2 separate regions of the Homo sapiens genome follow, and region 2 is linked to region 1. The links are contacts of gene promoters, found by promoter capture Hi-C in human tissues and cell types (Jung and others, 2019). All regions are on one chromosome and are shown on one strand. The core of a region is centred on a gene start or on the middle of the fragment in contact, and the rest is flanking DNA. Distances in the headings are between cores, read along the strand shown.

Region 1 (4,253 bases), core at 782-3,281:
TTTAGCAAAGTAATTACAAAAGTTCGTGCTAAATTATGATTTCATAAACAAACACATACCACAGGAGTGCAAGCATGGATGGAAAAAAACATGCTTAATTTCCTAGATTTAATAGCTTTTAATGCAACTCCACACCTATTTGTTGAAATGTGGCTATTTTGAAGGTCCCGTGCTAGAGGCAGCTAAGCCACAGGGAGAGGGGAAGAGTTGAAAGAAAAACGCACAGATAATCGTATAGCGGGTCAGGTTATAGTAAGCATTCCAGGCAAAATACTCACATGGGTTATGAAGGGTTCAAACAAAGGGGTTCAAAGGAAGAAGACATCATAAGAAGCTGGAAAAACCAAGAAATCTAATGGAGGATATGTAATTTGAGATGGGTCTGGAAGGATGAGTAGGATTTTGAAGACAGAGACAAACAGTATGACTTTTATTTCAACTGCTATTCTTCAGGTTTCAGTAGTCATTGTATTTCATTTGATGTTACAAGTTTTGGTAATTTCTTCCTTCATTTCTAGCTTCTTAAATAAACCCTCTGCTACATGACCTCTACTGAGCATTAATCATGCCAAATTAATCACTATTTTCTGGATAAGCCAAATATTCTAAAAAATCCCTATGCCTCTACTCATACTATTCTCTCTGCTTGCTTCACCTTTGCTCTTTTCCCTAAAGTAGGCTGCGAACGAATATAGAAGGCTTGGTTCATTTTCAATGTCTTCCTTGACCCCCACCTCGAAGAAGTATGTGTACCTCACAGGTATTTCCAAATCCCTCTGTATGTTCTTTGATTATTGTCTCTCACATCGTATCCATTTATCAAGGAACAAGCTTGTTCCTCCACACAGAGCGGTTCTTAAGTAAGGGCAGGAGAAGCCATATGGTTATCCTCCGGCCCAGGCTGTCAGGTGGTTGGTATTCGGTCTGTATATACTCTGATGCAATCAGTTTTTGAAGGAAAGAACGGTAAGCGCAAATAGAACCATAGCTTGTGTAGCAGGGTTCATGTAAGCAGTGGTTCTTACTGAAAAACAGACCCTGTTCTCTCGGGCTCACTTCTTCCTCCGTGTGAACCACTAATAGGAGGGGACCGAAGGCTGAGGCCAGGCCACCTGGAAGCCCACAACGCTGCTAGTAGCAGCGACAGCAGTAACAGCAACTCACCACTGTAAAATCCTCAGTGCGTTTCCATGTGCTTTCCCTGTCATCTAAATGCTTCTCTTCAGCGGCCTAAGGTGGCCCTTCTTTTTCCCCGAGTTCAGGGAAACACCTCCCTTCTTTCAGAATGTGAGAAAAAAATGGGATTTTCCTGGGGCTGAGAGTGGGGATTCCCTTTCCAGAAACGTGCAATTTTTTCATCCCGCCCACCTGGACTGAAGGCAATCAAAGCGAGGGAGCTCGTGGCATAGTGGAACACTCCAAGCACCCTGGCCCCCCTCCTCCCAGAGAAGGGTCTGGAGCCCCGCAATCCGCTAATTAGCTCGCCCCCATTGGTTGTCCCCAAGGCACCCCCGTGCCGTCACTGTGCTATGCTAATGAGGGGGAGTCTCATTGGCTGGGCCTCCAGCTCCATCTCCACAGGGAGATTGCGGGGAGAGCCGGGTTGGCCGCGTCTGGGGCCGAAACCCACCGCCCCCGATTCCCGCCAGCTCAGGGCTGTGCCGGATGCAAGCCCGCCCGAGGGAACAGTAGCCGGGAGGCTGCCCTCTGGGAGGATCTGGCAACTGCCTTTAAGGAAAGTGCTTCACCATCAAGCGGCGCTCACTCCCACCCCTCTCCCCTCTTTCTAGGCACCGCGCGTCTTTTTCGGCGAAGTAACTTTTTATACCCGCCTCCCCCTAGTCCTGGGGACCAGAGGCGGTGCCGAGCCTGGGGGCGGTTCCTTGGCAGCGTTGATTCTTGTCAGAGCCAGACTTTTGCTCCTGGGTTGGGTTTGCATCATCCCCATTACACCCTCGGGAAAGAGGAGCCAGCCCCCTTTCAAGCCTTAGCTTCCGGCTCCAAGCGGACCCCCTCCCCCTCCCTGTCCCCTTCCCCTTCTCCCATCCCTCTCTCGGCCACAGCGTCTTGTTAGTCCTCTCCCTGTACTCCGCAATATTTTCTTTCTTTCTCCCTCCTCTCCTCCATTTGTTGTTTGATGTTTCCCACTCTTTGAGGAAGGATGGTTGATTTGGAGAGCGAAGTGCCCCCTCTGCCTCCCAGGTACAGGTTTCGAGATTTGCTGCTAGGGGACCAAGGATGGCAAAACGACGACAGGTGAGTGGTGTGGTGGAGGATTGTTCTGTAAATATTGCTGAAAAAGAGACGGAAATGGGAGGGCCGAAGTGGGGAAAGGAGGGAGAAAAGGAAAACGGAGCCAGAGAGGGAGACTAGGCTGGGGGAGGGAGTAAAAGAGACTCTGATTTGTCTCTCCATTTTGACTCTATATAACTGTTGCTATAGATAAGGAACTCTTTTTCTTTACACTTTTCTTATTCTTGCAAGGTATTTATTGCATTCATTTGGTGCTTATTCTTTTGTCTATCTGTGCTTTTCTAGGATGTGTATAAGGCTGGTATCAGAGGTACAATACACCCAAATGGTATGCAATATCATTTCCAGAAAATTTGCATTTTTTCCTTAGGTGTGGTTAATCAAACTCAAAATTGCATGCAAGTTGTTTGAAAAAGCACATTAGAAACTTAAAATCTCCTGAGTCTATTTACCTCCTCCTTGTCTGTGTTGTCTTGAGTAGGTATCTACTTGGCACTGGAAATTTTATGCTGTTTAAACATTTTGGAGTTTTAAGTAGACAATTGGTTTAAATATGTAACAGGTAGTTAGTGAAAATGACAACCTTTTTAATACAATATACTCACTTTGAACAGGTGACTCTGACCATTATGAATAATGATGTTTGTATAACATGATACAACCTTTTCATAACTAGTATATTTTTTTAACTGAAACAGAATATATGTCTCAAAATTAAAATTAAGTTTCAAAACTAGAATATTTATTGTTAGCAAAATATTGTTCATGTGTTTTATTTATAGCATTACTGCTTTGCACAAACTTCTGAAATTCCTCTGTCTATTTCTGTCTCAAGCACATTTTGTATTTCAGCGAATTTAGTATTTTCTGGAATAGTCATCCCATATATCACATGCCACATTTCTTTGTTTTAAAATAATACATGTATACTAACTAGGTTCTCAACTCAATTGAAATGTTTCATTGAAGTTTAGTTTAGTATTGATGTGCTATTTTAGTTATATAAAAGATCCATTATTGGTCCAATCCAAAATCCCCTCCTCATTCACCACTGACCAATACACTCTATTTCTTTTCTTCACCTTTTCAGCTCCCAATACCAACTCCTGTCTCTACACACTGAGGATTTTATCTTGAGCATCAATTATGGGCATCTTGTTTGGTCTCATATTAGTAATTTGAAAGGAGATGGATGTTTTGTAGAGGATATTTTGGTTCAATCTCTTTTTTAGGCAAAACCACACATATTGGCTAAAAATTTAAAGAAGTAATACCAATTTCTCAGTATTCTTGTAAAGTGTTTGGGTAAACTGAAGATAAAGAAAATAATTTTTAAGTGAATTTGTAATACAAATTGACATTTAGATAAACTGCATTAGCCTGGTTAAATGGCTTAGTAAGTGTAGCATGGTGTTCCTAGTGACTGAATGTATATTTAGTTCAGGACCTCAGGATCATTATATAGAATAGAAATCCTCTTTGTAGAAAGTGTGAGATAGATTAAACACATAAAGCACATACTTTGGTTATAGTGATGGTATTGTTGTTTGTTTGTTTTAAATATCATATCCAATATGTTAATTTTCATGTGGTTGCCCTCATTTTTCTAAGGATGCTGCAGAAATATTTTAGTAATTAAGAATTTTGGTTAGTTGAACACTGCCTAAATGGATCAGTGCCATATTAAAAAAGTTTTGCAGAATGGTTAAAATTTTATGTTCTATTAAAAGGTTATGCTAGCCCAACTTTAACTTAAAAAGCAGGCCACATTTACTACTAAAATAAGTTATTAAATATTTAAAACAATCATTCAACCATTTTTAAGGATTTGGCTACTTTTGTGGCTTCATGGAAAACTATTCTTTGGTTTTGGTTCCATTTGTTGTTAATCTTTGAAGGCAAGATACTTGGAATCAGAGAAACCCAGATTCAGTCCTTGGCTGTTTCCTTCACTAGCTGAGTGGCCTTGGGAAAGTCATTCAGCCATTATGAGATTCAGC
Region 2 (4,253 bases), core at 606-3,105, 160 kb after region 1:
GCCCTATTGGCTCTACCTCCCAAATCTTTACATCCAGCTCTGCACTGTCACTACTCCTTTTATGCTCCATTATCTCTTGCCTGGATGATCTGGTCTGTCTTCAACATAATTGCTCCCTTATAATGCTTATCTCTCTGACCCCAACTTACATCGTACTTTCTCTCCTTCAATAGGCTTCCTCACCACAGCTTTCTTTTTGTTCCTTGATGATGTTATGATGATTCCTGACGTGTGGGTTTTGAACTAAATGTTTCTGATTCCTTGTATGTTCTTTACTTAGCTTTCGGCCTCCTTTAGGTCTTGGCTTATATGTCAAATACTTAAAGAAATCTTTCTTGACAACTCAGTTCAGGGTCTTAAAAATATTGCTACACCATCTACCACCAACTGCTCTGTAATACATGTTTTCCATTATTTTCGATCATTTGCTTGTATCACAGTTTTTTTCTTTTGATAACATAAAATATGTTCTGGAAATGAAACTGAGTTTTTATCATACATTTGAGGCAAAATATTTCATTGAAGATGGAAAGAAAGAGAAAGAAAAAATGAAACAGTGAAACAGTGATTTTACTTTAAGTTCAATTTCATCCAAAGCGATTAACAATGAAGGCCAATTAATGAACTATATTATTCTTTTCATACTAGCCATGTTTTGAACCTTGCAACAAATATTTAAAACAGGGATCAAAACTTTATAGATCTACATTTCTAATGGGTAAAGACAGGTGGTAGTAAAAAGAGTGATATTAAGTGAGTTCTTTTACATTACATAAGTGGAAGGAAGACACAGTAGACAAATTTTTCACTTAGGAAAGACAGTATAGCTTAGTTAAATTTCATCTTATTTGGAACATTTGTCTTAGTTAATTAGTAGCTTAATAACTATTACTGGTTTAGTTCACTAGGTTTTAAATGTGGACTTAGAATACAGCCCCTGAATAAACAAAGTACTTGTAGGTAACTGGCTCTCTTCCTAATTGATATATCTCAAAAATGAAGATATGTCTAATTTCAAAGATTTCACAGAGAAGGCTTATTTAACTTCCACAAAGTTGGGGGTAATTGATGAAAAGCTTTATTGTATTTCTAGGGCTACCTCCTATGAGTAGAGTGAATCTTGGTCAAGATTTTTACCCTTACTGCCCTAAGATGCTGCTTCTTTAGAGAAACGAGTTGGACTAGATCAATCAGTTATTCCCAACCAGTAAGCTGTGGTTCCACAGCTTGCTCCATACTTTTCATCAGTGTCATCATGGGTTTGTTATTCTATGACATTGATAATTGCTAAGAATGAAGATAAAGACAATTAGAATAATGACCGTTAAATGTTATTTTTAGTTGAATGCGTCTCATGGAGTGAAAAAGTATAGAGAATAGTATATTTATTGTACATGTTGGATTTAAAGAAATCTATCTTTTGCTTAATTTTTTTGTCATGTGTTTTGAAAAAAATACAGAGTAGAAGCTTTTATTGAATGGTAGCATCTTAATTGCAATATTATTGCCTACCTTAATCTCCTTGAGTTTAAAGAATCTGATATGCTAAGTCTCTGACAAATTTTCTAAAAATTAAAGTCATAAGAGCAATGTCCGTTAGGTTAATGCTAACACAGACTATGTTTTCCAGTAACTTTCTTTAGTTTAGAATGTGTCATTGACCTTCTGACACTGCTCTTTGAACAAATATCATTGATCAGGAAAACAGTTGTAATTTGCAGTAATTTTTTTTTTTTGGTCTAAGAGGCCATTCTGTAAAGATACTGATGTATTTGATACTAGCTTATAAGCAATTAAATGTACCATTGACAGAAAGGTTAGTTGAATGCTCATGGACTGCTCAGCTTCCTTTCAACAGTGTTGTTACTCACATATGGTTATGTTTGTATATTACAGAATTATCTATGAATATTATAGTCCATGAAATGGATATAAGTTCATTAACCATCTCTTAGAAGGGAGAAATTTTTCAGTTGATTTTAAGCAGAGCTTATTATGAAACTGAAAGGGCTATCATTATGACAAAGTTTCTCTGTTGATGAACATGATATTTTAATATTACACTTTAAGAATTGAATTCAAATAAGTAGTTACATAAAAATAAGAGTCAGTCTTATTGTGAGAGTAATTCTCATTGCTTACAATGTGAAGAGACATGTTAAGCTGTACTTTCTCTTTTATTTTTAATGGTTACATTTGGACCATTTCTGATAGAATAAAACAAAGCTTATTTTGTGCCTCATTTAATTTCCAGAAAATGTTGACTAGAGACTATTTGGTCTTGTTATCTGGCAGCAGCTAGCAAGATATTCTTTTGGAAATGCAATAAATGTGTACAAATCGTTTAAATTAGCTGATATTTATTTGGTCCTATTTCATATTTCACATGTGCAAGGACATTTAAATTGAGTGTTAATCTTACTAACTTCTTGATAGTAAAGAAGATGGGATGTATACATATATTATTTTATTTTTATCAAATCTGTGAACATATCTTTAAACATATAATGGAAATAGTGTGTAAGCTAATATTTCTATATTATTTCTTGGATATACACTTTACTTTTAAGGGCTGAATGAGATAAGTAAAATAAATTTAAGCAAAAAGAAAAGTAGGTTGTAGAGAATAAAGGGCTCACAACTTAGAAAATCCTTTTAGACTGAATTTAGTAGCATTTCTGTATCTATTATTTGCTCTGGTTAGAGCTATAAATTCACTTGGGTGATTTTCATGGGCAGTATTAAAGTGATTTTCAGCCTGAGACTAATAGTTTAGTGTAAATATATTTGCTGCTTGGGGCAGTAGGAACCACTCACAATATCAGTAGATATTGATTTACTGATGACCTCAAACACTTCCCAAATGATTTCATTCTCTTGCTTAAAATTCTTCATTTGTGCTGTTAGAGTCTTCAGGGTAATGCAAATATCTTAGTGTTGTATATGAAATAATTTATAATTTGTCCCTGCTTTCTTCACTGGCCTCATCTATTCACATTTGCCCTACTCGAAATGCTTTTGTTTATGATCATACTGCACCAGAGTAATGCATTTTACAGTTGACTTTTTGATGAAAAATTTTATTAAATCTTCTTTATAACCAGTAGAATTTGTTTTTAACTGGTCACGATGTTGAAACTTTTCCTATCAAGAATTCCCTTTTTTTAAGGTAAACTGATGAGAGGACGACGAAATATAAATTCAAAGGAAAGCAGAATAGGCATTATGCTTGCTTGTTTTTGAAAGTTAAGCCTTAAAAAAAGGAAAAAGGGAAACATAATTCTTAGAACGATTGACCTTTTGTATTATTGTATTACTGGGAAGGGAGTAAAGGTATATTTAGAAACGGATTTCTGATATCACAGTGAGCTTCAGAAAACCAGTGTAAGTTCTTTCTAATATTAAAGTCAGAAAAGTTTATATGAAGAAATATTTACATGTGCATGGAGGCTATGAACATGCATGTGGTCATGTGATACATACCTGTAGACCCACACATACACTCCATAGGTATACACACACACACACATACTCTCTCTCTCTCTTATGTTTTTTGCAAGCTCATTTCTTCTGTAAGCCACCATTAAATGATGTAGTTCCTCAGGGATCATTTCTAGGCCCTTTTTTAATTTTATCATTTCTTCTTATATTTTTCTTTTGGGAATATATCTTACATTTTAGTTATATTATCTGTAATTCTATAAATATAGCAGTATGGGTAGTGTGTTATGATATGTGTCCATGCAAATTAATGTCTAGGGATGGCTAATCAGCTTGTGAAGAACTCTAATCAGGAACCGGTACCAACTATTGCCAGTTTCAAGTGTCAATAGTTCTGTGCCCAAATCCTTTCAAATTAACATAAGATGAATTAGAAATATCTTTCAAGACATGAGGTTGGCAAGAAAATATTGTTTGTTTGCCTCTGCCCTTGTGGGATTGGATTATAAGAACACGGAGAGCACAGTAGCTTAACGCTTTAGGGAACCTTTTCAAACCTGTTTCCATTTAACAGCAACTTCAGTCACCTGATTCCACAAGCTGGTTATTGAACCTGCCTTTAGTACATTTTCATACTTTTGTGGTATGAACTGTTTTTTCCCATGTGTTTGTTCCCATGTATTTGTCAATATGTAAACCTGTTTGATCTTACAAAATAGGGATTAATAACTATTTTATGTGATGGAGTTTCATCTAAGATTTTGCTCTCAATGTATAATGTTTAGCTGCAAGGCTGTGGAGGGCAAGGAGAA

Evidence for each region. Contacts are between HindIII fragments. The study calls those that stand out against the background at their distance.
Region 2: a fragment that was not itself captured here is called in contact with the fragment with the promoter of KCNT2 in region 1 in 2 of the 25 tissues and cell types used here (adrenal gland and liver).

What each region holds. Positions count from the first base shown.
Region 1 is chr1:196,606,218-196,610,470 of GRCh38, reverse strand. KCNT2 (potassium sodium-activated channel subfamily T member 2) reads left to right here and starts at 2,031. Exons shown (of 28, transcript NM_198503.5): 1 at 2,031-2,256. The coding sequence starts at 2,162. RefSeq lists an enhancer at 1,180-1,696. The HindIII fragment of the contact is 13,382 bases long and covers 1-4,253 here.
Region 2 is chr1:196,443,389-196,447,641 of GRCh38, reverse strand. All of the region lies in intron 8 of KCNT2 (potassium sodium-activated channel subfamily T member 2), which reads left to right. Among named protein-coding and RNA genes, the nearest start is that of MIR4735, 140 kb to the left of the region's middle. The HindIII fragment of the contact is 3,543 bases long and covers 84-3,626 here.